2 separate regions of the Homo sapiens genome follow, and region 1 is linked to region 2. The links are contacts of gene promoters, found by promoter capture Hi-C in blood cells and fetal thymus (Javierre and others, 2016). All regions are on one chromosome and are shown on one strand. Each heading gives the region's core, a stretch centred on a gene start or on the middle of the fragment in contact. The rest is flanking DNA. Distances are from core to core; before and after follow the strand shown. Region 1 holds the start of DPEP3 (dipeptidase 3). Region 2 overlaps PRMT7 (protein arginine methyltransferase 7).

Region 1 (2,899 bases), core at 19-2,518, 350 kb before region 2:
GGGAGGCGGAGGTTGCAGTGAACCGAGATCGTGCCACTGTACTCCAGCCTGGGCGACAGAAGGAGACACTGTCTCAAAAATGCAAACAAACAAACAAGCAAAAAACTGCTGTTAGTCCATGTGCTATGTGAATGCCCCAAGGCCAATCCACTATGTCCTTTGTGGTTACGGCAGACCCCACACTCACCAGGGATTTTCTGGTCATTTTCTGCGTGTTTCCACAGAACCTGGGCATACATGCAGCTAGCCTGTCTTGGCCTCCAAGGCCCCACTCTCCTTAGAAACCACATGATGGCACACTGCATGCCCCATTGTATTTAGTCACCCAGAGGCTGGCTGACCCAGGTTTCTGTGACCCCAACATCCCCCAGCAGCCATGCTGTGGCACCCTGTGTGTCCCTGTGGTACCTGGGCACCCACGAGGCCGTCTCTAAGCCTGTCCAGGCTGGTCTGACCATGGCTGAAATTTCGCAGGTTAACATCCTGAAGCACATTCTTGTAACGCTGTCTCAGGACCTGGGGCAGGTCATTGTGGCTGGGGGTGTGAAGGTCAGATGGAAACACCGCCTCCAGATCAGTCAGGATATATCAGGTGCTTGGGTCTACCCTCCTCCACCCCACCAGGCACCTCCTCACACAGACCATATAGAGACCTCCTGAGGTTGGGTTGGAGGGAGGGGGTTAGATTCCACCAGGAATGGAGTAATGCGGGGAAGGGCACCCATGGGTGATGGAGGAGAGAGGGCATCCAGGGGTGGTGTGAGGGAGCCTCCTTGATAGCCTCCTTGATAGCATGCTCAGAACCTCCTCTCCTGCCCAAGGGTGTGCTCACCCCGCGTTGCCCAAACGCTGCACCTACATACCCGTCCACGAGTGGGAAACTCCGCATCAGGGCCTGCGCGCGACCCCGAAGGTCCAGGGTTTTGGGGGTGCCTGGCGTAGTGAGGCCTGGGGTAGTGAGGGCGCTGGGGACACCCGGCGTGGTGAAGAGGCTGGGGGAGCCCAGCGTGGAGAGGGCTCTGGGGGCGCCCGGCGTGGTCTCCGCGCGGGTTACGGGCTGCCGCAGCAGCAGCAGCAGTAGCAGGAGCAGCAGACGCCGCAGATACCGCCGGCTGAGCGCGCGGGAACCCTCGCGGCCCGTGGGCTGCATGTTGCGCGGGGGTCGGCCGCGGGAGCCTGGGAGGAGCAGGCGATGGGCAGAGGCCGACAATGGGGTCCGGATCATGACGACCCAGCCTCCCGAAGAGGGGGTTGAAGTCACGCGACTCTGAGACCGACGCGCCACGCAAGGGGGCGCCACGGCTTTTCCGCCCCCAAGCAGGAGAGCGCCCCCATGGGCCGGAACCGCCGCTGCAGCGTCGAGGACTCCTCGCCCTTCCACCCCCAGCGCTGGCTCCGTAGACCCCCACACGAGTGGGGGAGGAGGCCAGGCAGGGAACTAGTAGGGGCCCAGGGATCTTCCTGATCTCACCTCCTACCCAGGCCCACGTGGCGGTTAGCTGCCGGCTTGTGCCCAGCTCCTAGGCAGGTCAAATATTCTAAGCTGCGACTCAGAAGAGTTAATTCGGTCTGTCTGGTTTGATGGACAGAAAGATTCCCTATAGGTATTTCATTTCATTTCATTTCATTTCATTTCATTTCATTATTTCATTTCATCTCATTTCAGTTTTGAGACGGAGTTTGGGTCTTGTTGCCCAGGCTGGAGTGCAATGATGCAGTCTCGGCTCACTGCAACCTCCACGTCCCGGGTTCAAGCCATTTTCCTGCCTCAGCCTCCCGAGTAGCTGGGATTACAGGTGCCCGCCACCATGCCCAGCTAATTTTTGTATTTTCAGTAGAGATGGGGTTTTACCATGTTGGCCAGGCTGGCCTTGAACTCCTGACCTCAAGTGATCCTCCTGCCTCGACCTCCCAAAGTGCTGGGATTACAGGCGTGAGCCACCGTGCCCGGCCCCGAAAATGAAATTTAAGAACAATTTTTGTTGGGGATCATTATTTTAGCTTTTTTTCCTTCTCCAAGAGACAGAGTATCTGTCACCCAGGCTGGAGTTGCAGTGGGGTGATCATAGCTTGCTGCAGCCTTGATCATAGCTTGCTGCAGCCTTGAACTTCTGAGCTCAAGCGATCCTCCTTCCTCCACCTCCCAAGTAGCTGAGACTATAGGTGCAGTGCCACCATGCATGGCTAATTGTTATTTTTTATTTTATTAAAACAAATTTTTTTTTGAGACAGGGTCTCACTGGAGTGCAGTGGCACCATCTCAGCTCACTGTAGCCTCGACCTCCCAGGTAAAAGTGATCCTCCTGCTTCAGCTCCCTAAGTAGCTGGGAGGGACTACAGGCATGCACCACCATGCCCAGCTAATTTTTGTATATTTGCATTTTTTTTTAGAGACAGGGTTTTACCATGTTGCCCAGACTGGTCTTGAACTCCTGAGCTCAAGCGATCTGCCCACCTAGGTCTCCCAAAGTGCTAGGATTACAGGCATGAGCCACCACGTCCGGCCTTATTTCTTTTTTAGAGACGTGGTTTTTTTTTTGAGACGGAGTCTCACTGTGCCACCCAGGCTGGAGTGCAGTGGCTCCATCTCTGCTCACTGCAAGCTCCGCCTCCCGGGTTCATGCCAGTCTCCTGCCTCAGCCTCCCGAGTAGCTGGGACTACAGGCGCCCACCACCATGCCCAGCTAATTTTTTGTATTTTTAGTAGAGACCGGGTTTCACCGTGTTAGCCAGGATGGTCTTGATCTCCTGACCTCGTGATCCGCCCACCTTGGCCTCCCAAAGTTCCGGGATTACAGGCGTGAGCCACCGCACCGGGCCGAATATTTTTTTCTATATATATGTTAGTATACAGACACAAAAATGAGAGGTGACAGCGTGCTGGCAGCCCTCACAGCCC
Region 2 (3,223 bases), core at 31-2,530:
GGAGGTGCTTATTTATGTTCAGGGAAACTCGAAGAGTTCAGGGAAGACTTCTGGATGGGGGATTCATGCTGCCCTGGGAAGTGGGGTTTGATTTGGCAGGTGGGGCCAGGATAGGGAAGGCTCAGTGATCATGAGATCATTGTGGCTGGAGTGTTGGTTGTTGGGGGAATGGGGGAGGAAGACTGGGAAGGTAAGGGAGGGCCTCCAAAGCAGTAGTTTCCCCTTATCTATGGTTTCACTTTTCGTGATTTCAGTTACCTGTGGTCAACTGAGGTCCAAAAATACTAAATGGAGCCAGGTGCGGTGGCTCACGCCTGTAATCCCAGCACTTTGGGTGGCTGAGACAGGTGGAAACCTTGAGTCCCAGAGTTGGAGACCAGCCTGGGCAACATGGCAAAACCCCGCCTCTACAAAAAGTAGCTGGGCATGGTGATCTACGCCTGTAGTCCCAGCTACTTGGGAGATTGAGGTGGGAAATTGCTTGAGCCTGGGAGGTGGAAGCTGCAGTGATCATGCCACTGGACTCCAGCCTGGACAATAGAGTGAGACCCTTCTCAAAAAAAAAAAAAAGAAAAATTAAATGGAAAATTCCAGAAATTATTTATAAGTTGTAAGTTGTGTACCATTCTGAGTATTATTACATAATTGTTCTATTTTTAGTTATTGTTAATTTATAAATTATTATTTATATTTATTATTGTGCCTAATTTATAAATTAAACCTGGTCATAGGTAAGCTTGGAGGCTGAAGCAGCTCCACTGTGAATGCTAATCCTCCACGCTGACTTCTGACCAACCCCAGCTTCAGGAATGCCTCTAAAATTTCCGCTCTCATGCACTTTGATGTAAATCCTGCCCTCAGGTCAGAACAACTTTGATGTTATCATAAATACATACTTACCGTAAATCCTGCCCTTCGTCAAATTCCCTGTGGTATGTAAGCCCTGCGTCTGAGCCATAACAGTGTGGGGGCCCAGTTTCTCACTGCCCGAGACAAGGCTTCTGTTTGTATGTCTCTATAAAGTGTGTCTTTCTGAGAAGCTGGATTTGCCAGTCTTTCCTCAGCCTCTCAGCTCCCGTGGCCTGTTGGGGTAGGTTTGCATAGAGCTGCCCACCATGGAACAGTATGTATGTATAGCAAAAAAAAAAAAAAAAAAAAAATGGTATACATAAGGGTCAGTACTGTCTGAGGTTTCAAGCATCCACCAAGGGTCTTAAAATGTATCCCCCATGGACAAGAGGCACTGCTGCACCATAAGAAAATAGAGGCTGTGTTCTGCCAACAGTGGGGATTTGGGACAATTTTGAGCCCAGAGGATGACCTACTTACTCACACCTACAGTCTGCTCTCCTCTGGAGGGCACAGCACGCCTCCCAGGTTCGTGAGGCAAGTCCCTTTCCTGGCTTTTTGGCGTCCTCTTGTGCGGTACTGACACCTACTGCTCTTACTAAGTAGTGCAGCCTCCTCAGGATCCCCGGCATCCCCGCTGTGCCTGGCACGGAATGAGAGTCCCTAATCACAAGTTAAAGCCAGCTGAATCTCAGCCCTTTTTCATGATGCACATTTGGAGAATAAAGTATTTAAGTTACATATCTTAGGACCAGAATCAAGGAATAGCTTGCTCACCTTAAAGGTCAGACTACTGTTTAATTTATTGCTCATTTTTCCTTGGGTTTCGGCTCTATTTTCTAGGTTTTCAAGCCTATGGCTGATGCTGCTGTGAAGATTGTGGAGAAAAATGGCTTTAGTGATAAGATTAAGGTTATCAACAAGCATTCCACCGAGGTGACTGTAGGTCCAGGTGAGATTTACACACCCTGTGTTGAAAGCTTTGCTTGCTCTTGTGTGAGAGAGGAAAAGGGTTATTCCAGTTACCTGGAACAAATCCAGGTCATAGCATAGAAGTGGGACCTCTCTGTGTGGAGCTCTGACAGTAAGGACTTGGTTTCTCTTGATGTTTATTTTCCTGCTAGTTAAAACTAGTCAACAAGGAGTAGACTAGAGCTAGTCAGGTCCAGCAATGGAGACGCAAACAAAACCTACATTTGCTTTAAGCAAATTGGAATTCTTATGGGGCTCAACTCTTGAGTTTCAACTACCAATAATTACGCCTTGGATAAACCTCATTGGCTACGATACTGCCACTGCTCAAAGCTCAACTCTGAGTTTCATCAGGCAGAAAGTACTTAGTTCTTTTATTTATTTATTTTTTTGAGAGAGAGTCTCACTCTGTCGCCCAGGCTGGAGTGCAGTGGCGCTATCTTGCCTCACTGCAAGCTCTGCCTCCTGGGTTCACCCATCCTGGCTAACACGGTGAAACTCTATCTCTACTAAAAATACAAAAAATTAGCCAGGCATGGTGGTGGGCACCTGTAGTCCCAGCTACTGGAGAGGCTGAGGCAGGAGAATGGCGAGAGTAGTTCTGACATTCTGCTTCTGCATACAACATGAACAATTTTCCTGTATAGCATTGTCTCTTAAGGTTTCCAGAATATGTATATGTACACACACACACACACACACACATATTTTTTTTTTGAGACGGAATCTCACTGTGTCACCCAGGCTGCATTGCAGTGGTGCAATCTTGGCTCACTGCATCCTCCACCTCCTGGGTACAAGTGATTCTCCTGCCTCAGCCTCCCAAGTAGCGGTGATTACAGGTGCCTGCCACCACACCTGGCTGCTTTTTGTATTTTTAGCAGAGACGGGGTTTCACCATGTTGGCCAGGCTGGTCTTGAACCCCTGACCTCAGGTGATCCGCCTGCCTCAGCCTCCCAAAGTGCTAGGATTATAAGCGTGAGCCACCATGCCTGGCCTCCAGAATATTTTTTATAGTCTAGAACTTTGTTTCAGTCTTTGAAAATTTCACATGCCACTGACACTTAGAGAACATAGTTGAAAGATTTGCAAAGGAAAAACTGTGGTGAAGTTATGGATAACACCATGGGTTTTTTCTAATTTTTTGTGGAGATAGGGTCTTACTATGTTGCCCAGGCTGGACTCAAACTCTTATGCTAAAGTGATCCTCCCATCTCAGCGACCCAAGTACCTGGGACTACAGGTGTGCACTACTGCACCTGGCTTTTTCACCACGGTTTTGGAGAATGCAGTATCATTCTGAATTGAAGCTTCTACCTAAGGTCAACATTATTCTCCCATTTAACAATTTTTTTTTAATGGAGAATCTGAAACATGTACAAAAGAAGTGGGTACTATCTT

What was found. The method cuts DNA at HindIII sites, captures the fragments that hold promoters and counts their contacts. A CHiCAGO score of 5 or more calls a contact.
Region 1: the fragment with the promoter of DPEP3 here is called in contact with a fragment that was not itself captured in region 2 in 1 of 17 cell types (fetal thymus); the score reaches 5.1 in fetal thymus.

What each region holds. Positions count from the first base shown.
Region 1 is chr16:67,979,231-67,982,129 of GRCh38, forward strand. DPEP3 (dipeptidase 3) reads right to left here and starts at 1,269. Exons shown (of 10, transcript NM_001370198.1): 1 at 864-1,269; 2 at 409-535. The coding sequence starts at 1,150. RefSeq lists an enhancer at 593-1,093. The HindIII fragment of the contact is 6,110 bases long and covers 1-2,899 here.
Region 2 is chr16:68,327,374-68,330,596 of GRCh38, forward strand. It overlaps PRMT7 (protein arginine methyltransferase 7), which reads left to right. Exons shown (of 19, transcript NM_019023.5): 6 at 1,693-1,801. It also overlaps the pseudogene RNU4-30P. Among named protein-coding and RNA genes, the nearest start is that of PRMT7, 18 kb to the left of the region's middle. The HindIII fragment of the contact is 1,093 bases long and covers 735-1,827 here.